Regions from separate parts of the Homo sapiens genome. Here regions 2, 3, 4, 5, 6 and 7 are each linked to region 1. The links are contacts of gene promoters, found by promoter capture Hi-C in blood cells and fetal thymus (Javierre and others, 2016). All regions are on one chromosome and are shown on one strand. Each heading gives the region's core, a stretch centred on a gene start or on the middle of the fragment in contact. The rest is flanking DNA. Distances are from core to core; before and after follow the strand shown. Region 1 holds the start of STMP1 (short transmembrane mitochondrial protein 1). Region 2 overlaps AKR1B1 (aldo-keto reductase family 1 member B). Region 3 overlaps SLC35B4 (solute carrier family 35 member B4). Region 4 overlaps DGKI (diacylglycerol kinase iota). Region 5 holds the start of AKR1B15 (aldo-keto reductase family 1 member B15). Region 6 holds the start of LRGUK (leucine rich repeats and guanylate kinase domain containing). Region 7 overlaps DGKI (diacylglycerol kinase iota).

Evidence for each region. Contacts are between HindIII fragments. The CHiCAGO score rates a contact against its expected background, and 5 or more counts as called.
Region 2: a contact is called between a fragment that was not itself captured here and the fragment with the promoter of STMP1 in region 1, in 4 of 17 cell types (naive CD8 T cells, total CD4 T cells, total B cells and 1 more). The highest score is 6.8, in naive CD8 T cells.
Region 3: a fragment that was not itself captured here is called in contact with the fragment with the promoter of STMP1 in region 1 in 5 of 17 cell types (naive CD8 T cells, non-activated CD4 T cells, naive CD4 T cells and 2 more); the score reaches 8.5 in naive CD8 T cells.
Region 4: a contact is called between a fragment that was not itself captured here and the fragment with the promoter of STMP1 in region 1, in 1 of 17 cell types (M1 macrophages). The highest score is 7.7, in M1 macrophages.
Region 5: a contact is called between the fragment with the promoter of AKR1B15 here and the fragment with the promoter of STMP1 in region 1, in 2 of 17 cell types (total B cells and total CD4 T cells). The highest score is 9.6, in total B cells.
Region 6: the fragment with the promoter of LRGUK here is called in contact with the fragment with the promoter of STMP1 in region 1 in 5 of 17 cell types (naive CD4 T cells, non-activated CD4 T cells, naive CD8 T cells and 2 more); the score reaches 7.1 in naive CD4 T cells.
Region 7: a fragment that was not itself captured here is called in contact with the fragment with the promoter of STMP1 in region 1 in 1 of 17 cell types (endothelial precursors); the score reaches 7.4 in endothelial precursors.

The regions. Positions count from the first base shown.
Region 1 is chr7:135,660,823-135,664,380 of GRCh38, forward strand. STMP1 (short transmembrane mitochondrial protein 1) reads left to right here and starts at 1,692. Exons shown (of 3, transcript NM_001130929.2): 1 at 1,692-1,772. The coding sequence starts at 1,758. RefSeq lists a silencer at 1,567-1,786 and enhancers at 2,426-2,950, 2,951-3,475. The HindIII fragment of the contact is 1,162 bases long and covers 917-2,078 here.
Region 2 is chr7:134,452,425-134,455,929 of GRCh38, forward strand. The region is part of intron 1 of AKR1B1 (aldo-keto reductase family 1 member B); the gene reads right to left. Among named protein-coding and RNA genes, the nearest start is that of AKR1B1, 4.9 kb to the right of the region's middle. The HindIII fragment of the contact is 1,484 bases long and covers 1,187-2,670 here.
Region 3 is chr7:134,308,715-134,312,413 of GRCh38, forward strand. It overlaps SLC35B4 (solute carrier family 35 member B4), which reads right to left. Exons shown (of 10, transcript NM_032826.5): 2 at 652-765. Among named protein-coding and RNA genes, the nearest start is that of SLC35B4, 6.4 kb to the right of the region's middle. The HindIII fragment of the contact is 820 bases long and covers 954-1,773 here.
Region 4 is chr7:137,596,703-137,600,150 of GRCh38, forward strand. It overlaps DGKI (diacylglycerol kinase iota), which reads right to left. Exons shown (of 33, transcript NM_001321708.2): 11 at 3,121-3,203; 12 at 1,145-1,205. Among named protein-coding and RNA genes, the nearest start is that of DGKI, 250 kb to the right of the region's middle. The HindIII fragment of the contact is 8,119 bases long and covers 1-3,448 here.
Region 5 is chr7:134,547,650-134,550,960 of GRCh38, forward strand. AKR1B15 (aldo-keto reductase family 1 member B15) reads left to right here and starts at 1,461. Exons shown (of 12, transcript NM_001080538.3): 1 at 1,461-1,600. LOC105375520 (a long non-coding RNA gene) reads right to left here. Exons shown (of 3, transcript XR_928005.3): 3 at 1-3,311. RefSeq lists an enhancer at 1,472-1,531. The HindIII fragment of the contact is 2,317 bases long and covers 571-2,887 here.
Region 6 is chr7:134,126,021-134,128,589 of GRCh38, forward strand. LRGUK (leucine rich repeats and guanylate kinase domain containing) reads left to right here and starts at 1,320. Exons shown (of 20, transcript NM_144648.3): 1 at 1,320-1,644. The coding sequence starts at 1,348. RefSeq lists enhancers at 1,173-1,222, 1,333-1,602. The HindIII fragment of the contact is 1,507 bases long and covers 230-1,736 here.
Region 7 is chr7:137,577,952-137,581,358 of GRCh38, forward strand. DGKI (diacylglycerol kinase iota) reads right to left here. Exons shown (of 33, transcript NM_001321708.2): 16 at 319-374. Among named protein-coding and RNA genes, the nearest start is that of PTN, 240 kb to the left of the region's middle. The HindIII fragment of the contact is 174 bases long and covers 1,193-1,366 here.

The DNA of each region.
Region 1 (3,558 bases), core at 442-2,941:
GCCTGTAGTCCCAGCTACTCGGGAGGCTGAGGCAGGAGAATGGCGTGAACCCGGGAGGCGGAGCTTGCAGTGAGCCGAGACTGCGCCACTGCACTCCAGCCTGGGTGACAGAGCGAGACTCCGTCTCAAAAAAAAAAAAAAGTTTGTAAAATTCGTACCTAATAATTTAGGACAGTCATGTCTGCTTACAGGTGTTATTTGTCTGTTAAAACTAGTCTGCAGATTGTTTCATGAATGCTTTGTCAAATTATGAAAATTAAAGTGCAATAATTTTTGAAGACAATAAGGGATGGTGTATCTTGTTTCTAATAAGATGAACTTTTTTTGTCTTTGCTTTATCTTATTAGGGAGTTATATATCTTATTAGGGAGTTAGTGTTTAAAACATACTGTGTGGTATAATAGGCTTAAAATAAATTCTTTAAAAGAGAAAGAGAGAAAAAAACACACACATACACAGACCGGAAGACTGACAGAACAGACTCTTTGTGGCGATGATACAAATTGTCAACAGGACCTATGGCCATCCCAGGCAAGAAACCCAGCTAGGCCAGTGAAACTGAGAGCCAACCTGATGAGGCCTGCCAAATGCAACTTCTCTCACTTGTTTTTAGTCACCTGCTTTTAGTGGATTAAAAAACCCACATAGCTAAAGTCACAGAGCTAAACAATATATATCTAAGCTCCCACTATCTTCCTTATGGATAACATCTCTGACATCTGGGTTGCTTGATAAAGGTTTCTTGTTTTTCAGGAAGTTGGGGTCAGTTCTTGTACAGTTTAAACCACCAACCTCTCAACTGGGCCTGCATGAAAGCCCGATGGGTGTCCTTCTGACATTAGAGGGCCAAAACCTCCACACTCAGATCATGCTAAGGATGTCATTTTGTGACCATGTATCCTATAAAGAGCCATGAAGCTTGACTACCTCGCGCAGATAACCCATTGCCAAACTTTTCCTTACCTTCAACCGCCTTTCCCCACACCTCAGACCACCCTGCTCCTCTATCCCATAAATATCCCTAAAACCCATCTTTGGGGAGGCAGATTTGAGATCTGTTCTCCCGTCTCCTCGGCTGGCTGCCTGGTGAATAAACCTTTTCTCTGCTACAAAACTCATCATCTCAGTGACTGGCGTGCGGCACACGGCAGCATGGGCCCCATACGGTACCCAGCCTCTACCTTGATTACACAACACCTGATTACACAACGCTGATTACACAGCACACCTGCGGAGCTTTGAGAGCTACAAGCCTCCTTTCCTCCCCGCAAAGTCCAGCTGGGCCCAAGTAGAGGATGCTGCAAAAGCCCCCACGATTCAGCTGCGAACCTAGGGATGGGACCCGCTGCTCATGCCGTCCTTCTAGGTTAGAGAGCCCTAAACTGGGCTGTGTATCAGAATAGTCCGCGTGCTGAGAATAATATAGATTCCTGGGCCTCGGCCCAGGTTTACAGAGGCGGGATGCTCAAGGATGCCCAGCCAGGCTCGGGACTTGCTCTTCGCAAGTCCTGTCGCGCGCTCGCTGCCCCGCCGGTTCAGGCGGTGAGGCCAACGCGCTCCGCCAGGGGGAACCTGGGCGCTGCGACACTGCAAGTCGTTTCCGGGCGCGGGCTGAGTGGGAGGAGCGGGGCGGGGCGTGGCGTGACCCGGAAGTCGACGAGGGGTTCCGCCCCCCCCGCGCATGGGGAGGTAGGCTCGGACCGGCCCGCGGAGCTGCTGCAGTCCTTCGCGCCCTCCTCGCCCTCCCCACCGACATCATGCTCCAGTTCCTGGTGAGTGGAGCTGCCGAAGAGCGGGGCCCGCTGCCTGGGGCGTGCCTCGGACCCCATTTCCCCCTTGAGGATTGCCGACCCCGCCGACCCGGCCTGGGCGTGGGTCCAGCGGTCCCTTCGTCCCCCGCGCCTGGTCGTCGCCTCGCAGGGCGGCCGTTTTCTTCCTGCCTCCCCAGAAAATCCCTTTGCCAATATTTTTCTGCAGCCATCCAAGTCCCTAAAACTTTGAGGTGTCAGAGAGTGTGCGTTTCCAGAGCTTCTTATTGTGTGCCGCGCCCCGCGCTCATTGTGCAATCTTTGTATTAAAGCTTGTGTGGTCCTTGATGACTTTTCGTAGTCCGCCCCCCTTTCTTTCTGCGCTCCTGTTCCATTACATGGTCGCCGGCCGGTCCCTGCTGTGGAGCCCTGCTAGTTGGCTTTTCTGAGGAGGTAGGAAGGCCAGGAATAAACCGTAAATTAGCCACCTCACGAAGTCCGAGAGGCTAAGTCCTCATCAGACCTTTCAGAGTTGGAGGAATGAGTCAGACACTGGTATACAAGTAATTTTTCCCAAAATGTGTAAGCATGAGTAAGCAGACTATTTCTCTTGGCTCCTTATTTGAGTTAAAAACGAGTTTTCTGGCAAAACTCGGTATATTTCAAAAATTGCTTGGTGAAGGTTCCAGGAGTTGCTCATCAAATTTTCAAGTGAAAGTTTTTCTGCCAAGCTATTGTGCATTCAAAACTTGATGCTTTCAACCTCTATTTTTTTTTATTTTTTATTTTTTTTGAGACGGAGTCTCGCTGTGTCGTCAGGCTGGAGTGCAGTGGCGCAATCTGGGCTCACTGGAACCTCCGCCTCCCGGGTTCAACCGATTCTCCCTCCTCGGCCTCCGGAGTAGCTGGGATTACAGGCGCGCACCAGGATGCTCAGCTAATTTTTGTATTTTTAGTAGAGACGGGTTTCACCAAGTTGGCCAGGCTGGTCTCGAACTCCTGACCTCAAGTGATCAACCCACCTCAGCCTACGAAAGTGCTGGGATTACAGGCGTGAGCCACTGCTCCCGGCTCAAATGCTGTATCTTTTTTTGTTGTTTGTTTTAACGGAGTCCCGCTCTGTCGCCAGGCTGGAGTGCAGTAGTGCGATCTCGGCTCACTGCAGCCTCCGCTTCCTGGGTTTAAGCGATTCTCCTGCCTCAGCCTCCCGAGTAGCTGGTGCGCGCCAGCAGGCCCAGTTAATTTTTGTATTTTTAGTAGAGACGGGGTTTCACCCCGTTGGCCGGGATGGTCTCGATCTCCTGACCTCGGGATCTGCCTGCCTCAGCCTCCCAAAGTGCTGGGATTACAGGCGTGAGCCTCCGCGCCCGGCCCCAAATGCTGTATCTTTATCAAAGAGATTAAAACACAAAATGCACCCCTTTTGTCCTTTTGAAAGATGGTAATGGATTGTTAAATCCAATTAGTCAAAAGAGTGTCCTTAATCTGCCCAGCTAAGACAGGGCTGCTCCTTTGCCTCTAGGAGTTTCTGTAGTGTCCTAACTAGATGTTAGTTTAGGAGTTCAGAATAATGACAGTCATTTTCTTGTAGTAAACACTAGATTAAAAGCGGTATCACTTAGCTCCAGAGTATAGAATGATGTAATTGAGCTGCTTACTATATCTGTTGCTCATTGATAAACTGAGAGGACATGATTCAATTACAGTTAACTTTCTAAGTGGTTTTGCAGAATGAGTCTATTTGGTTTTGCAATAAACTTTTACTGTGTGTTAATTTTTTTTTTTTTTTTTTTTTTTTGAGACAAGGTTT
Region 2 (3,505 bases), core at 679-3,178, 1.2 Mb before region 1:
GGGGAATGTGGATCATGGAAGATCACCAAATGGTTAGTGGCTGACCTGGCAAAATGACTGAATGGGTGTCCATGGCCAAGCCACCTGACCATCTGAGTAACCAGAACAGCTGTGGGGAGCCTGGCTACTGAAGAGGAGGAGGAAGTGCCTACATGGCATCGCGCTTCACTGGCACCCAGGTAGGCTGCATGGACACGTATCCCCCAACTTTCACTATCCTGCTATGATCACAGAGCTGAGCAATAAACATGTGCAGCGGGCTGTTGAATGAACAGAGCACATTCCTTTGGAGAGCTGGGGTAGAAACAAATGAAAAGAAAAACCCCCCAGGGCCATAGCAGCTGCAGACATCTGTGTTTTGACATCAGCTATTTTCAACAGGCTTTGGGGAAGAAAGGGGCCCAGTTGAACAAGCCCGTTACCAGAGCCTGTTAGCATGGAGCTCACTCTCCACCTCAGAGGGAGCAGCGAGGCAGGGTGGGGATGCTCATCGAAGGTGTGGGTTAAGAGGGGACGACCCTCAGAGGACCTGGCGACCTCTTATTTGACTGGAGGACCTCAGAAGCTGCTCTTGCAGCCTTCCCCACTCTGCACGGTTGAAGGAACAGAGAATCTCAATTTCCAGAAAGAATGCCTTACCACAGGCCCTGAGTGGTGTCCGGGCACAACCACCACTGATGACAGCAGGGAGAGCAGAGGACATCCCTACCCCAGAAAGAACAACTGGGGCCCAGGCAGGAAACTGCCCAGGACACACTGAACTTTCTCCAGGCTTGATGGCGCCTTGATTGATTTTTCTCTGAGGAGCTGCTGAGGGCACACTCCGCAGGCTCAGCCTAGCCACGCACTGCCTGCCATGCAACTGGTGCGGGGACAGGAACATGACTCAATCCAGGCCATAAGACTCAATCTTTGCACTTGAATTGGAACCCCTGAGTCCAGCCCCGGTTCTGCTGGGGTCACTGAGCTGGGAGAATGTCAGCCTGGAGCTGCTGCAGGAAAGTGGAGGGAGGCCAAATCCTGGTGACAACATTTACAACCCTGAATCTCAAACACCTAATGTCAGCGGCTGTTGTTTGGGGAAGTCAATCAATCCCCACCCCAAACACACTTTTTTTTTTCCTGCTTAAGATTAAAGTGGTTTTTCAGTTCTTTGGAACCAAAAGAGCACAGACTAGGATAATCAAGCTTGCGTTGGCACGACATGAAAAAAAAGTTGTGAGAGGTTTTTCTAGAAAAGTAAAAGACAGCAATGACTGCAAGAGGTCACGAAGAAGCTGCTGATCATTCCTTGGATATGTGCCATTCGCTGGAGACATGTGTGCTGGGAGGCTGATCAAAGGTGCTGGAGGGAAAAAGTCACCTCTGCAATGAAAATGTACGAGGATCCACAACCACATTCTATGTTAATGATCTCAATGTACAGCCCTTCCCTGAGAGAAACTAATTTGCCTTATGAAAAATGAAGCAGCCAACTTAAGCTATGGTGAGAAACCATTCACTAAACTTGGGAATGCCAACACAGGATGACAACATCTCCCCATTCCATGTCAACAAAGAGAAAATGCAAACAGAAGGAGGGGTCCAGATTGACTTCTAAAAAGAAGGTAAACTATGAAAACATGCTGGGTGGCATCCAGGCACAGCCATTACTGATGAGAGCTGTAGAAATGCAGTATATGAAACACTCCAATTACAGCTCAATCATACAAATCCTACATGTTTCTAACCCGATCCTGCCACTAATCTGTGTGCCCTTGATGGGCAAAACCATGCATGCCCATTCCTCCCAGAACTTCTGGCTCTGCAAAGCTCTACGTTGGGCAGTGACTTGAAATGCTCTGGGCTGATGGCACCAAGTGATGGCAGTGAGAAGCCTCTGCCCTTGAGTCCTCCACCACCTCCTTCAAGACAGCGGTCCTAGTTCCTCCTTTGATAACACCGGCTGGCTAATACCAACTCTGAGACACTGATAACTAAAATCAGTGTCTCCCTCCTACACAGATACAACACTCCTTTTAAAACCTAGTCTTCTTCCCTTTTGCTTACAGGTCTTGCTAGTTACTTCAAGATACCCCTCCCTCTCTTCCCTCTGCAAGTCAAAAAGCAAGCCACAGTGCTAAACAGGAAGACGGTCACAGGACAGTGTTTATGGTAAAACCAAAGTATCTCAGAGATTGGATATTTTGCAATATTAACCACGGGGATCTCTGGGAACAGGGAACTCTTCATTTTTGAAATGTTCTCTAGTTAGCAGGTGTTACTACTGAAATCAAAGGATAAGGGGAGGGGGCAAAGGAAACTTCACTTTGGGTAAAGAAACGGTCCTGAGTAGGAAGCATGAGAATGCTGTGCTGATAATCCTGGAGCAAGGAACAGGAAACGATCACTCAGAATCAGGTTTGGCAGCAGAAATTAACTTCCTCCTGTTCTGTTTTAATCAATTTGTCCCAAATTCTAAGACACTGCTGTTTCCAACTAGTTGAGATGTGCATGGACCAGGACTGACCCTGTAGGGGCAGGGCTTATTTAAATGTCTTTGGTCTTGAAGAGGAAGAGATGGGGGCTTTAGAGACACCAGGGAAGTGAACAGTAAATCTGGCTCCTGTGTTACCTCCATGCCCACAGCGCCTCAACCCTCACCCCATCCAAGGATCTTGGGCCATCACAAGCTTACCCCACTTGGGGAAGGTGGAGCAAGTCTTTCCTGGCACATTTTCTTTTACCTCATGCATTCTTAAAGTGGGTGCTATTGTCCCCAAAGAGACAAAAATTAGTTCTCTGGGGCAAAAAAACCCCCCTCAGCTTATAGAACAGCTTGTGACCCTCTAGAAGGCTACTGGCCATAAGCAGAAGTACAATATTATCTCTGATATTACAATTTTATTTTGGGGCAAATTAGGGGAAAAAAAAGTCTCACAAGGCTCCTAGGTGGGAGGGAGGTAGTGATCATGGCAAAAGATGGAGAAACATAGTTGTACCTTCAGCCCTAGGAGTATTCTGTGAGCATACATAGGAGACTTACAATGACTTTTACCTCCAACAATTTTTCAACTAGATTAAAAACACTATCAGTAACAAGACACTGGTGGGCACCAGACATCATCTCTGTTTTAAAAGCTTCCTGGCTTTACAATGCTGTGATGGGTTTTTGTTGTTGTTGTTGTTTCTGAGACCGAGTTTTTTTTTGCTCTTGTCGCCTAGGCTGGAGTGCAGTGGCACAATCTCAGATCATGGCAACCTCTACCTTCTGGATTCAAGTGATTCTCCTGCCTCAGCCTCCCAAGCAGCTGGGATTACAGGCACCCACCACCATGCCGGGCTAATTTTTGTATTTTTAGTAGAGAGGGGGTTTCACCATGTTGGCCAGCTGGTCTCGAACTCCTGACCTCAGGTGATCCACCCGCCTTGGCCTTCCAAAGTGCTGGGATTACAGGTGTAATTGTTTACTATCCAATGTAGAAGGCAAGACTGCCAGAAAGAAACCCTGTCCAAGCCACATGGG
Region 3 (3,699 bases), core at 114-2,613, 1.4 Mb before region 1:
TCTCAAGTCACTCTCAGCAAGAAGGCTGAGTTTTCAATACACTGTTTAACATAAGAACTGCCCTGTTTTCTATTTGGCCCCATGAGTACAATTATGCACATTTGGACTAATGTACTACAGGTCTGGCATCAACAAATTTTGACTTTGCTTGCCATTCATTTTCTTTTAATTGAGGTGAAATTCACATAACATAAAATTAACCATTTTAAAGTGAACAATTCCGTGGCATTTAGTACATTCACAAAGTTATGTAACTACTACCTCTATTTATTTCCAAAAGCCATTCGTTTTTAAAAAGAAACAAGGATACTCCCCTTTTAGAATGTTTGATAACTTCACCAACACAGAAGACAGCACAAAATTTGTGGTCACACTAGGCCTTCTGACTAATCCTATACTAAATAAGAACACACACACATACACACTCTTGTCTCCATCATGGTTATTTTAAATCTTGTGGCAGAAATTTTATTTTCGAAGTAGGTACCCCGGATTTTCACAACATATTAAATTCAGAAAATGACTTATTATTCTACTGGTATCTTTGAAATAAATCTTATAAAAGAATGTCTCATCCTCCTTTTATACAGGTACCACCTCTTTACTTTCTTAAAAAATCCAAAAGCTAAAAGAGACTCTAATGTACCATACCTTATTGGGATAGCTGGTGGCTTCCTTCCCAAATCAGCTTCAAAGAGGAAGCCTTCCACAGCAATAAATAAAAATTGTGCAAATGTCACAATGTTCCCACATCCTGGATGCTTCCTGTATAGTGAATAATAAAAGAGGGGGTGAAGGCACAAAAACTGAGATACAGAACACTAAAATGCATTCTAATTAGAGGGCCAGAATAACAGCGTGGATGGATTTCAATTACCCACTGTCCTTTATCTCAATGTTCATAGCCTTTGGATCACATATACTTAGCATTGATCTCACAGAGAAGAATGTCAAGCTTTCTTATTTAACTCTTCCTTGCGTGTATCAGGCCATGAGTGAGAATTACTGTGACGACACACTTGTTCCCAGAACTACGATACAGCTTTCCTAGTAAACTGCAGGAAATTGGTCATATGTTCTTATTGGGATCTTTGCTTCACCAGAAAGGTCTTTAATCAGGATCCCAGTCAGCTTAGGTAGCAAAGCCCAGGGACAGAAATATGCTCAGGTCTCCTGGAATGTTTATATATCCCTCCTGACCAGGAATCACCAAGACTGCTGTCAAACGAAAAATGGACCCAGTGTTGATGATAGGAACATTACTTTAAATGGTGCCCAGCAACGGGGCAAAATTGGTTCTTGGGATGGGGGAGATATCTTACTCTTTTTATAACAATAAAGTACAAATATACATACAGTACCTGAACCAGTACACACTATATCTATGGCAGGGGAGGGATTAAGAAAACAACGTCTAAAAAGTATTCTGGAGGAGGCATAATGAACAAAAGACTGAAAAACACTGCCGTAGTCTACTATTCTCTACAGCTCTTAACCCAGTGTTTTGAATATATTAGGCACTCAAAAAATGTTTGTGGAATTCAATAGAGTCTCTTTAGTGATCTGTGAAACAGTTGGGGAAGATTCCCCACATTCAACAGTGATTGTTAGGAACAAATTTACAAAGTTAAAAACTTCCTCCTGACATTCATCTTGAGGCACTCTGAAAACTAGTCATTTAAAATGTTCAGGTTTTCTTGAGCTTGTCTTCCATTCAGCTCTGCTCAATCGCTGGAAGAAGAACAAAGTGAGCAGTTATCTTTGCTCTCCTGAAGCTTCCAGATTTCCTATAATACCAATATTCACCTGCCTTCGTATTCTGTGTTTTCATCTTTTTTTTTTTTTTTTGAGACAGAGTCTCGCTCTGTCGCCCAGGCTGGAGTGCAGTGGTGCCATCTTGGCTCACTGCAAGCTCCGCCTCCCGGGTTCGTGCCATTCTCCTGCCTCAGCCTCCCGAGGAGCTGGGACTACAGGTGCCCGCCACCAGGCCCGGCTAATTTTTTTGTTTTTTTTCAGTAGAGACAGCGTTTCACTGTGTTAGCCAGGATGGTCTCCACCTCCTGACCTTGCGATCCACCTGCCTCGGCCTCCCAAAGTGCTGGGATTACAGGCGTGAGCCACCACACCCGGCCTCTGTATTTTCATCTTGACCAAAGGCATTTACCTGAAGCTGGTGAGAGGTATGTAATTGTATTATTACATATTAATATACTGCTACTTACCAGAAATGACTCCATTCTCCATTGGTATTAGTATTATACAGCAATGCCAAGATATACAAGTCCTTAAATATACCCATTAGGCACAAAAATAAGACAATACAGGCATGAGCCATTCTTCTACAGAACTAGGCTTACTAACTGAAACAGAAATGTTGCTACTCTTTAAGCTCTGCTGCCTATGAAGGTTTCCTTGAAAACTGCTTTCTATTCAATTCAACAAGTTCTCTTTTAGCACTTCTTATGTTCAAAGGACAAGGCTAAATGCAGGAATCCATAAATAATCATGTAAGACATTTACCTCATTCAAGGACCTAATTAAAACCATTAGCCTAAATATGAGTGACAGAAGGAACTTTAACTCTAGATGGTTCCTAGCACGGTGCTTTGGAACTCGGGCCAGCCTACTCTGCTTTTTAAAAACCTGTTTCCCAAATGGTCGGCACGGTGGCTGGCTCACACCTATAATCCCAGCACTTTGGGAGGCTAAGGCAGGTGGATCACCTGAGGTCAGGAGTTCGAGACCAGCTTGGCCAACATGGTGAAACCCATCTCTACTAAAAATACAAAAATTAGCCAGATGTGGTGGTGCATGCCTGTAATCCCAGCTACTCGGGAGGCTGAGGCAGGAGAATCACTTGAACCTGGGAGGTGGAGGTTGCAGTGAGCCGAGATCATGCCACTGCCCTCCAGCCTGGGTGACAAAGCAAGACTCTTGTCTCAAAAACAAACAACAACAACAAAAAAACCTATTTACCCAAAGAGGCTCACTCTCCCACTTCTAATTTGATTAGTCTGGGGTAGGACCCTGGAATCTGTACTTTTAAAAGCTTTCCACTTGATTGTCACATGCAGCCAGGTTGGAGAAATACCAGTCAAGGTGCAGGGAAAGGGCTGAGAGTGTATGTGAGTGCATGTGTCGCTGTATATGTGAATGCACAGGTAGTTCTCAGGTGCTGACACAAGGTTGAGAACCACTATGCTCCACTGTGCTTAAAAGTACACACCGACATGCGATATGTTGCTCTGTCACTTGCTATGTGACAGAAGTGAATTAATTTATCTAAGTCTAGTGTTTTTATCTTTAAAATGGAAACCATATGAGTGCCTATCTCTGATTTATTGTAGAGTAAATGAGCCATCCCTGAAAAGCACTTAACACAGCGCCTGCCACAGAGTGAAAAAGGCAAATATGATGACCAGTATTTAGGATCTTGCAGGCTGAAAGGTCTTCAGCCTTTAAAAGACATTCCAGTTGACTAAGTTTTCTCATCTCTAAAATGAAACTGATTTCACTGTCGTAGTGAGTATTCAATGAGAAAATACATGTAAGTGCCAAGCACAAGAGGTAATCCAAAAGAGGCTTCAAAGTTTCCTTCTATGTTCTCTTTAACAAGTTTAGGCCAAGTCAACTAAAGAACAATTATCAAGACTCAATTATGTGTAGAGTTAGGTGGCTGCTTCCAGGGAGCCCCCAACT
Region 4 (3,448 bases), core at 659-3,158, 1.9 Mb after region 1:
ACATTGTTTTTACTCTCCACACAGTATCTGAGAGACCAATAAAAATCACAGTTCTATTTCATTCTCATTGCATTTATTGGTATATAATGTGTATCCAACCCTACATTAAGTGCTTATGTGCTAAGAGAGATAGTATTCGAAGATTTTGTTGCTACCTTTGAGAATAAAACATTCTAATTAGGGAAATTAGAGAAAAGCTAAAGATAGTTCATAATACATTCGTAGATCCTATGAGATCAGATTCCAAATCCGGAAGAAAAAGAACCAGACAACACAATCTAAATGTCATGATTCTCAATTCTTTACTTTGTTAAATATATCACCATAAGTAGAGGCCAAATGGAGAAAACCGATGAGGCATAATAAACAGGAGAAAATATATCCATGATATTAACCTTCAGCCCAATTCCACCTTTTTTTCATAAATGAATACAAACATACAGTCAGAAGGAATAAGTTCTAATGTTCAATGGCAGAGTAGGGTGAGTACAGTTAGCAACAATGTATTATATATTTCAAAGTAGCTAGAAAAGAGAACTTGAAATGTTCCCAACACATAGAAATGATAGCCTAGGTAATGGATACCTCCAAACCTTGACTTGATCATTATACATTCTATGCATATAACAAAATATCACACATACCCCATATACAGGTAAAGTATGTCAACAAAAAAGAACATAAATAGGACCAATTAATAATCTTTAAGGCAAAACAACACTCAATATTCTGAGTTTTATTCCCACTAGTAAAAAAAAAAACATAATAATTCAATTGTGTCCACGTATTTCTCCCTACTGTGGCCAAATTATTAAGAATAAATGGAAACAGTTCAGCTTATATTTTAAAAGGAATTTATCTATCTATAATCTTCATTTTAAGGATTTGACCACATCCCTACTTCATGGCACACAAAAGAATACAGCATAGTTGAAGGAGTGAAGCACACATTAGAAGGATCAAGTATGTATTCATAAGGACAATAACAAAGTCCCTTGTTACTCTTAGGGGCTATGATTCACATGAGAGATATACATGTGTTAGGGGATTAGAAAGACTGAGCAACGAATAAAAAGAAGTGCCACAAGAAAACAATAAGAAAGATAGAATTGGCAGAGAACTGGATTCTCTCTCAGGGACCTACCGTTCCATCCCCACCACAGGCCAGAATTCGCAGATTTGGTACTTTCCTATACAATTCAAGCCTGTAGAGGAAATAGAAGAAAAAGTAAACAAAAGAACATTTCACTGGCTAGAGCAGAGAGAAAGCAGAGGACAACATGGGTAGGTAGGGGTGGTGTCCGCTGGAGAAAATGTGTAATCATGAGGATGACAATGCTATCATAGGTCCCAAGTAACCACAGGAAGAATGACTCCCACCAGTGGAACAGGTGTAGGCATCAGACATTATTTTTGAATGAATAATTCAACGTTGGAATTTAAGGGATTTTAGGATGTCCTAGTTTTATTTCCCATAACTTCTATTATATGTCAACATTATTTTCCTCGTTAGTTTTGACTTCCTTCTTTTTCTTTTCCCATCATTTCCTCTTCCCCTTTCCCCAAGAAAATCATCATTAATTGATAATCAGTAGTCCTTATATATCCCCTCTTTATATTTATTAGTTTTCCCTGGATGTATTTACTTCTTCTAACTTATACTTTCTACTCTTAATCCTAAGAAATCTTTTTCAGCGAGACGGGGAGGCTTCCGCACTCTCAGATGTGAACACAGGTATCACATCTACAATTCCATCTAGTCTTTCTCTCAGCTCAGTTACACACCACTTACACCTCCAACCCAAAGTGGGAAGATTGACTGATTTTTATTTATTTCAAACTTCTCTGCTTGAAATAAGATAATTTTGTCTTTCCTCTTGGATCTCAGGAAAATGCATTGACACTGCCCCTGCTAAATCTTTTGCTTAGGTGAAGTTGCTAGAGGCTGTAATCTAGAAAATATCACCTATTTAAATCACAAAATATGGTTTTTTTCTGAAAATATTTCCTGTCCTACCATGTTCTTTACGGTGACCTCTGAAGTGTCTCTCTAGGGTCTAACTAAAGTGATAAAATCTTAAGAAAAATAAGCTCCTAAAATGGCACATCCCAGGATAGCAGATTTGCCTTAGCATAATCAAGTACAGAAAATAAAAATAAATAAATATATATATATGTATTATGGGACAGAGAGAGGAAGAATCTTGCAGCAAACTCAACTGGTGAAGAAATTCATACGTTAAGAAAATAACAAATTAATTTTCATATTTCCTAATCTGCATGCTTAAAATAAGTAATTTATCCATTTTATACAAGAATACTATTTCTCTAGAAATCACCTTTTCCTCTGATATTGTTACTTATTAAAAAATAAGTGGTACCCTTGTGTTCTAACATTTATCAGATAACATCTGAACTATCCTAGTACATGAATTTAAAACGGAGAACCAGAGAACAGCAGAAGTGTCCTTGGTCTTTTCCACTGTGTGCCTCTCCACCAAAGGAGAGAAGCAGGATATGGGTCACCTACAATCTAGACTTTATTTTAAACACTTCTAACAAAAGCAGAGAATGAGATTTCTGAGAAGCTCAGAAACGGGATTGAGCAGGAATTAATATGTCTTCCCCACATTTGTGCAGAGTCCTCAGGTATAATCAATTGATTCTCTCTCTCTCACACACAAGCGCGCGCACACACACACACACACTCTCTCTTTTCAGTTCAAATATTCATAAACAAACATGGCTCCACCCTCCACAGACATACATTTACATTCCATTAATGTGCATCTCCAAAGTTGTACATGAAGAAATAGAAAAACAATGAGTCCTTTCTCAATTCACAGATTTGCAGAGAATAACCTACAGTTACACATACGTAAGTAACAAACACACTAGACGTATCCTGAGTTAATAGCTGAGAAGATATGTTTCGAAGGGAACTAAGCCAATAAAGAGTAGGAGAGAACTTTGGATGAAGTTTTAAAGGAAGGAGAGTACAGGTGAGAAGGTAGATGACAGATGGTCAGGATATACCTCACAAGGTAATCAGATAATGAAGCAGAAAATTCTCACTTGCCTAAAATACATATGGACCATGGAGAATATTTCCAGACTTACGCATCTTTTGGCCCTTCCTGAGAAAGATCAAAGACTTGCCGTGGATTCAGGTACCACATGAACATCTGCAGGACTTTGGTTCCCTGTAAAAAATAAATACACAAAAAGGCAATAATAGGAAGAAATTTCCCAAGAATAACTGCTCATTTAAAAAATAAATACTTTTATTTAAAATAATACACAGGGCACGGTGGCACACGCCTGTAATCCCAGCACCTTGGAAGGCTGACGCAGGTGGATCACTTGAGCCCAGGAGTTTGAGACCAGCCTAGGCAACATGACAAAATCCCGTCTCTACAAAAAATACAAACATCAGCCAGGTGTGGTG
Region 5 (3,311 bases), core at 211-2,710, 1.1 Mb before region 1:
ATCACCTTCCTTCCTTCAGCGCCCCCAATCCTGCCCCTTTGGTTCCCCTCTCAGGTCCCTCCGGCTGTGGTTTCAGGTTACTCCCCAGCTGTTTCAGGCCACGCCCCAGCCTGTGCTGTCCCTTCAGCTGAGGTTTCAAGTTACTCCCCAGCCGCTTCAGGCCACAACCCACCAAGTTAAAACTATATTAAATCAAAACGCAAGGAGGGAGATTACCAACTCAAAAATTTTAAAATATGAGGCTATCTTTCTGGGAAAAAGGTGATTTAATATTAAGTACTAATAATTCACTTTATTCAGCAGGCTCTTTAACGGGGGATCCAAACGTAAAACGAGAGAGCACGCGTGTTTAAATCGAATTAATTACCATACGAAAGTTCAACCAGACTTAGGAAAAACTCCCTTCAAGACAGGGTGGCACTTATTCATAGATGGAACCTCCCAGGTGATTAAAAGAAAGAGACATAATAGGTATTCAGTGATTAATGGAAAGACTGTTAAAAAAGTAAAATCAGGAAGGGGGTCTAATAATTGGTCTGTCCAAGGGTGTGAACTGTTTGCACTCAGCCAAGCTTTAGGACATTTACAAAACCAAGAAAATCTATCTATACTGACTCTAAGTATCCCTCTGGGGAGGCACACACATTTGGGAAAATTTGGATGGAGAGGGCTCTTATCAATAGTAGAGGCCAAGATTTAGTTCATAGAGAACTGATGCTCGTGTCCTCAACAATCTCCAATTGCCAGAAGAGATAGCTATTGTACATGTCCCAGGGCACCAAAACGACTCGCCTTTCACAAGTCCAGGAAATAATCTTGCAGATCAAATTGTGATACCCTATCTTGTTTTATCCTGATTGACTCTTTCTTAGCTGAGAGAGTCAATAGCTTGGGAGACTCAATTGAGAGTCAATATCGAGAGAGTCAATAGCTGAGAGAGTCTTAGCTTGGTTTCTTCGCTTGCAGCCCCTTGTCCCCCTCCTTAAGGACATAACTGGTGCAAGCTGACTCCAAGCACATCCAAGAATGCGCTTATTGATAAGATACTGAGGCAAGCTGTACCAGCAGCTCCTGGGAGCACACTTGGTTGGTGGTATCCAAAGCCCCTGCTTTTATCACTTTGGGATACTTTAAGCCCCTGCACCTGGAACTGTTTATTTTCCTGTAACTGTTTCTGTAACCATTTATCTTTTAATTTTTTCCTGTTCTGCTTCTGTAAAAAATTGCTTCAGCTAGACTCCCCCTCCCCTCTTTAGGCCAAGGTATAAAAAGAACTCTAGCCTCTTCTTCCGGACCGAGAGAATTTCAAGCTCTAGCTCTTTCTCAGTCGCCAGCAATAAAGGACTCCTGAATTAGTCTCAGAGTGTGGCATTCTCTCTATGACTTGCTCGGTTACGACATTTGGAAGCCCCAGAGAGATTCGCCACCGGGTGAAGACCTGACTCATTCCGGGCTTCCCCAGACAGACAGCTGGCTTACAGGGCCACCTGAAGACGTTCCAGGGCTCCACAGGCCACTGTCTTCTGGAGGGGAACGGATCGACTGCCGGTGCGCCCAGCCAAATTCAACTCCTGAGTCCTCAGTCTCTAGTCCCGGGAAGGTAAGTCAGATCTGACTCTGTCTCTCTGGGAGGGAAACGGCCCTGACGAAGGTCCTCCCTCAGACTCTGTCCATGCTCCAGGACACTGGAGGACAGAGTCCTGGTTTCTGTCAGGATTCTCTGTTAAGTCTAGTCTCTCTCTCTCTCTATCTCTTCTCCCTCTCTCATTCAGGTCTCCGGGAGATCTCTGTTTTAGAATGGGTATAAAAATTGTAATAAACTCTGAGTGAGTGAGTGAGTGAGTGAATGTGGAGTTCAAGGGCTTGCGCTTGAATTTCCAGTTTGTAGCTCCAGGGTGAAAGCTAGGGAATTCGAGAAGGCCCTCACCTGTGGTTCCGTGGTGACCTCATAAGGCTTAGGGCGGCATCAGGCATAGCTCGATCCAAGCCAGGGGTTTATACCAGCCTGCCAATGCCAAGAGGAGCCTAAGTCCCCGAAAGGGGAGCAGCCAGGAGGGCATCTGACTGATCCCATCACGGGACCCCCTCCCCTTGTCTGTCTATAAAAATTGCCATGCTTGTTTATATACCCCAGTGCCTATTGTCCTGTTTAGTGTCTGTCTAAATTTCATATGTCGGATCGTCGATACTGCCCAAAATGACTGGGCAAGGACTTCTTCAAGGTCCTTAGTACAGATTTTCTATCCCAGGAGGTCAAATTCCTCATTAGTCGGTTGGGCTGGCCATCCCAGTCCTGCCTTTCCTGTCAGAAACAAATTAGGTGTTGTTATGGGGAAGGGTGTGGAAGACATTCACCCGTTTAGGATTTCTGGCACCATAAAGATTGCTGGCGTTTGGATTGCCATACCCCACGCCCCAACGACTGGTCCACCTTCTCCTTAGACCAGTGGTGGATCCAAAATAGCCACCCTGCTGACCTCCTTACTCACCTTTTCTGTCATCCCATAACTTTTCCCATGCCCTTAAATAAGGCACTGTGCAGAGAAACCTACACCCATACTGCTCTACTCTGTCTGGACTCTTATTTTACCTCTTTTGGCTACTCTCCAACCTTTAGGGAAATCCAAGTGGCCCCTTTCCTCCTCATCCCCATCCCTTACCCTGCACATCTCATTTTCCTGTGTTGCAGCAAGTCCAGCGTCTCTAAGACTTGGCTGTGTTCTCCCTCCTTAAACCCGTGAAGGAAAGGACCGAGTTTGAACATTTTGCTTTCGAGTCGTGGAGACACCAAAGTTATTTGGGATATAAGTCAAGAAGGGGGGGTCACCTAAGTCCCACTGGCTGAGGATCCCTTGGACCCACCTCTTATCCTCTCCATAGATCTCGAAGCTTGAGGAGACAGACCTTATGTGGCAAGAAATATTGGCTATAGTTGTTTTCCTACTTCTTCTAGCTATAATACTTCTGTTCTTCTGATACCATAGCCTCCCAGGCCGTGAATATCTTTGTCCATGCTGGGTTTAATATTTTTGTTCAAACCTTGTTAATTGCCTCCAGAATAGTAAACTCTTCTTCCCGGCCCCATAAAGATTGGAGTCCTCTCCAGTGTATGTTGCAGAATTTCTCTCTAGGCTTCTCAGATGATTACGGGGTCCGCCTTAAAAAAGGCAAACTCTGGACACTCTGCGAAGTAGAATGGCCAAAGTTTGGAACTGGGTGGCCCCCAGACGGGTCACTACACTTCACAGCTGTTCAGGCTGTGTGGTGGGTCGTTGTTGGAACTCCCGGTCACCCCGATCAGTTTCCCTACA
Region 6 (2,569 bases), core at 70-2,569, 1.5 Mb before region 1:
AAAACGATCGAGATTTGCATTTTTACACTTTCTGCCTGATTCTTCCCTATGTCACTTAGCCGAAGCCAGGCCCTACGAGGGTAAGGGTGGGGAAAATTCCCTTGGAGGAATCTCTACTTATTGGAAAAAGAAATAAGCAAAAAGCAAGATGAGCCTGGCAGAAAGAGATATTTTGCTTGTGGCCTTTACATTTATGACTAGCAAGATAATGAAGGAAGGTAATTCTGAAAGCTTTATGTCAGTTTTAACGGTCCCTCAAGCACTGAGAAAGATAATCGTCAATGGATGGTGTCCATAAGGATTTTTTCTCCTTCTCCCCTGACAGCCATTGACAGGATCATTTTGTATTTGCAACTGCTGTCATTGAAGCGTGCAGAAAAGGCCCTGTAAGGCCAGAAGGATGAGGGCTACTTCCCTGCAAGGATCTCTATTGTCATCACTATGGCAATAATAGTTACTATAATTTTCATTCTGCTTTTCTATAGAGTGTCGACGTTGTGGAGCTTAAGGCTATGGGATTTGGGTCACATAAAATCACACTAGCATAAAATCGTGCTTTGTTATCTTGAAAGAGTATTTTTTTTAACTGCAAAGAGAGCCTGTGCAACAAGATTAAAATAATTGCCAATGCAGGTCACTTGACTAATATAATTATTTATGGGATGCTAATAGCTTTTCAGACGCTTTCAGATACAGTGTCAATTTGACAGCAGTTTTTTCTCTCTCTGTTTGGATTGTAAGACCACTGCCAGTTTTTCTCCCCAAGGACAAGGCTTATCATTGGGGGGTGGGGGTGGGGAATGTAAATTAATTGGAAATCAGCTCTCAGGCGTCGTCTGGTAGTTTCTCTTTATTATCTGCAATTAAATCATAAGGACAGGAACCATGCCTTCTATTTCACTTATATGCACCCTCATCTCCTAGCGTCGCGCTTTGCATAAATTTCAGTGGTACTAGCTTTCCTACAGACTGCTTTAGAGACATTAGACACTTCTAAAGTACGACTCTGCGGAAAGAGCCCTTTGGGAATGAAGCGGCAACGGTGGCGCACCTGCGATCCTATCGTGGGATGACAAAGCTCTAAGAGGGGTCTCAGGGTAGGGAGGAAACAGCTGGAGACAAAGAAAGGGGGTGTAGCGAAAAGAGGTGAAAACAGGAAAGATAAGCGAACAGAACAGACCAAAGAGAGAAAAATAACAGAAGAGACTGAGAAAAAGAAAAGTCAAGTGGAGCGCCCACTGCCCCGCCTGCAGAAGGCGAGTACGCGCGGAGGAGACTACAGGCCCCAGAATCCTCCGCGGTTCCCCTTGCCTGGGGTCAGTCTCCTAGGCAACCCCGCTAAACAAGATGGCGACCTCCGAGAGGGCTCTCCTGAGGACCAGAGCTGCCTCTCTCCTGAGAGGCTTGGGCAGATCCCGAACTGGAGCCCGATCGTTACAGTTTCGCGCAGAAAAAGAGCGTCAGCCTTGCTGGTCTTTTCCCATGGGGCAGAAGACGAAAGGCAGCTCTAACATAGCCTCCTCCTACCTGCTCCAGCAGCTCATGCACCGCTATCAGGAGCTGGACTCGGACGGAGATGAGGACCAGGGCGAGGGCGAGGCGGGATCCGAGGAGTCCTCAGAGTCCGAAATGCTGAATTTGGAGGTGTGTCTTCCCCCCCACCCCGTACTCCCTGGCTCCCTCGTCCAGCCCTGTTACTTCAGCGGCAGCTCCCCGATGCACCCCCACCAGCCCGAAGCTTCCCACACCTTCTCAGGCTCTCTCGCCTCCAGGAACGCCTCTTCCCCCTCTTTTCTTCCCCTGTCTTTTACCCCGTTTTCTCACCCCCTGCCTGAAATAGCTCTAAATAGTTCCTTTCTTTTTTCATTAACACATTTGATTTCTTATGAGTCGAGTTAACACAGCGTCACTTTGTAAGAGTGTCTAGATAATTGTCTGGGAATTATGGCTTTAGCTTTTTCAAAATTATACTTTGACAGTATTGTGAATAGGCAGAGTTCATCTCTGACATTGCCAGCACCTGTTGCCCATGGCTATGACATACTTCCACACTCTTCCTCAGTTCTAGTCCCGTCAGCCTCCCTCCAGGAAAAAAAAAAAAAAAAAAATCCGCTTTTGAAAGTGCTTCTTCAAAGACTAAGTGACTTAAAAGTTGAATACATTACTTCTGTCGGGGGCATATGCCTTATACAAGCAACATGCACACACACCAGAAAAGAGCCTTATAATGTTCGAACAGCCAGCTCATTGTGGGAATATTTTAGGATGTGGGGAATGTTCCCATCATCCCACCCATATTGACTGGGATGGCGGCTTCGCGTTTCACATGACTGCCATTCCCTCCTTTCTACAATATCTCTTCTGACCACCACACAATTCCTCTTCTTTCTTATGCTTATTATGGTCCTTTTCCTTTCTTAGTCCATTGTTGTCTTCTTGTCCTTTTCCACTTCTCATCACATCACTTCTTTTCTCTTGGCTTCTAATAAATTGCTTTCTTTCAAAAGCGTAATTTAATTTGCTTCCTTTCTATTTTGTTTATGTTTTTGAGATGGAGTCTGGCTTTGTC
Region 7 (3,407 bases), core at 30-2,529, 1.9 Mb after region 1:
TTCCTCCATTTCTTACACTGGCTTTGATGTTTGTTTCTCACATCCCTTTTTGAATAGCATCTTCTCTTGTTCAACATGAAGCCTCGGGGCTTGCTTAAAAGCTCAGAGATGAGGAACACCAACTCTCTTTCTGACAGCTAACTTAAGAAATACACCTCACTTTCATTCTTAAGCCCAGCCATGAAACAGTAACCATAGATAGACATATATAAATGAGATGTATATGTGATTATTTCTCATGTAGTTTGCAACTTTATGATACACAGTGAATTGGCAATAAGTAATATGTAGTAATTATGAAATAAAATGTATACCTACCCCTGCATAGAACATTTTATTTCGAAAACGACTGTTGAATTTCTCTGGATTTGCTTCTGTGAAAGAGGAAAAGTAGTTTTGTTATGGAGACCTCACTAAAGGTAGCGACTTAGATTAGCACTCCTACTTCCTCCCCAGCTCCCTCCTATCCTACAGATCCAATAGATCCCATGGTTTGGTTATCATCTTTCCCCCAGTTCCAGGCCAGTTAGTACAGTAGCCCAGTGCTACAGGGACAGTAATCCAGGACTATAAATGTGTAGTTCCAAACCGGCATCACTGACATTAGCTGAGAGCTTGTTAGAATTGCAAATGATTAGGCCCTAGCCAGATCTACTGAATTAGAATGACTTGAGTGTGGAGTCTATACATCTGTGGAGGGGAGCTCTCCAGGTGATTCTCAAGCACATTAAAGATGGAGGCACTCTAGATGCTTTGTAAAAATTGGAGGGTTTCCAGGGATATCGGGCTGAGATAACAGGAAAAGGTGGAAGAAGGTGGAGAAGCGATTATTTACTTTGACTTTCATAGGGCATGACTTCCGTAAGCTATGTATGCAGCTTCCAAATGTAATTAAACATGTTTTTGAGTTTGATTTGTGTTTGGAATAAAGTAGATATAAAATTGGGAATTAATGCCAGTTTAATTATTCCTTCTAAAAGAAATACAATATATGTAGTTATGCTGAGAAGTGTCCATTTGATGGGCTATATTTACATCTGTGCTAAAAATTCTTTCCATAGTTAAATTTTTAAAAATTCTCCTTTAATGAGATTTATATTAATTGCCTATTTTTATGTAGATGTATTGGCATAATTCTCAACTTAAAAGTATTACATTTTCTTGACTAATACCTCATAGATTCTACTATCCAAGCTTATTTTTTTCACAATGGCTTTCATGAGCCTTTGTGTTACCCTTTAGGTATTTTATGGCAAGTGATCCATGAAGCCGCAGACAGTGCCTGTGTTGGAAAACAGTTTAAAGTCTCACTATGAGTTTTCTTGGTTTGAGAACAGCCACTCACTATCTACTGACAAAATAAGTAAGCTTGCCACAATTAAAAATCTGGTCTTGCTTATCCTGTTTTTTCTTCTATAGCTTAGCTTAAGATTTCTTGACTAACTAGTTAAAAATAGGGGGAAAATACAAATGAACAGAAACAGTAAAAAAAAAAAAAAAGAAAGAAAAAAAGGCTATTTGCTTAATTATATATTTCATAGACAAATAATTTTTTAATTTACTATTTAAAAAAAGCAGAATAACAGCTACTGAAAAGTCCATACCTCTGGTCTAAGTGTATCAGCAAAATCTGGTTCCAATATCTTATAGTTATTTAATTTTTTTACCACCTCTATCCCACCTGCATGAATATTTACCTATTATTTCCAATTAACATAAATTCTCCCTTAACAGCCCTTCAGTGGCTGATTTTCCTCAAAGGCTCTGATTTACATGCAGGGGAAATGTTTACAATTCCATTTCATACTGCATCAAAACACAATAAGCCTTAGCAATAAACTATACAAAGATTAATGCTTGACATCTTTAACTAATTGTTTTATAATCACATACATATAAATGTACATGTTCATACACTCAACAATTTGCATATTCCACTCTAAAATAGTCCTACAGCTTAAAATAAAAGAGAAAAATCACTTTCCCCAAAAGAATTTTCTTCTAAGCCTGGTCTTCCCATGTAAGGGTCTCTCCCTGCTCCCTTCTCACTCTGATGCATAGAAACTTCATCATAGTTCAAGGAAGTGAATCATTAGAAAAACTTCCGGATAAGTTAGACTAAATATGAGACTCACTTGAGCTCATTGAGCTCATTGAATGAGCTCATTGTTGGCCACTTATTCATTTAGACCTCTTTTCATGCCTATTTTTGGAAATCCATGTATTTGTGATAATTGTGTTACTTTACAAGTATTATTAAGAAGTTTGGGGTATTTTATTAAGAAGCCCAGGATCTGGATCCTGCTAAAGAATATGAGATAAAAAATGGGGTAAGAAATGAAGAATAAAATCCCCCATGTACTTCCCAAATTAACTCTCCTTAAATATAAGAAGGGTAACAGGTCATAAATGTTGGCCCCAAGGTAAGTCCCTCTGAATACCTAATATCCAAGAACTGTCTAAGGCAGGGAGGCGGAAAGTGGTAGTGTTTCTGACTCAGGATATTTGAGGTTCTGTTATCAATCATGCCTTCTAGCTGTGATTTTTCTGGCCAATCAGAGAGGAATACCAAACTATGGCTTTCTCTTCAAACAGCATCATTCCTGCTTGGCACAGAATTTGACCTTTACAGAGCCTGTCCTCTCAAAACCTTGGGAAACCAGGAAGGTCAAAGTCTGCTAACATTGCTGGATCCAGTAAGAGACTTTAAAGATCTGTTCCTTACTTGTATTTTATACTCTAGTGGTTTTTAATCCTGTAGCATCACTCTTGACTTCTAGTGCATAAGTGCATGATCAGAATTTTCATGTTATTACCAGAATCTGAAAATCTGAATTCTAGCTTTTAGTGCTCTGTTATTTCAAATTCCAAAGTATGCAAAAATTCTAAACACCACTTCCTTTCTTACATAACCTGGAGGGAAAAAAGTAAAGTACTTCTCATTTATGACTTTATCTCACAAGTCTCTTAACAATCTACATCCTAGCATGGTTCTGGTTATATATATTCAGAAGGCACTAGGTACAGATATAGATACAGGCATAGACATGGATATATAGTATAGCTATATTAATAAGAACAGAGTTTAAGAGACAGAATGAGACAGAAAGAGAGAGAGAGAGAGATCAATCGGGACTACAAAACATAAGTCAAACCCATAAACTTTATCAGTTCTAAATGGCATGAGAAAATGTTGATGAAATATTTAATAGCATATCATTATTTCATCTTCTCTTTCAAAAATTCTGTTCCCCTAATCTTGACTCCATCTCTTTTAGTACCTGAAATCACTACATGGTCTCATTCACACCTCTGTATCATCCAGTGGGGATCCCTAGTACCTTCCTAATTAATCCCATCACCATTACATCCTATGCTTTCAACCTAAACTACCTATAGCTCCTCTA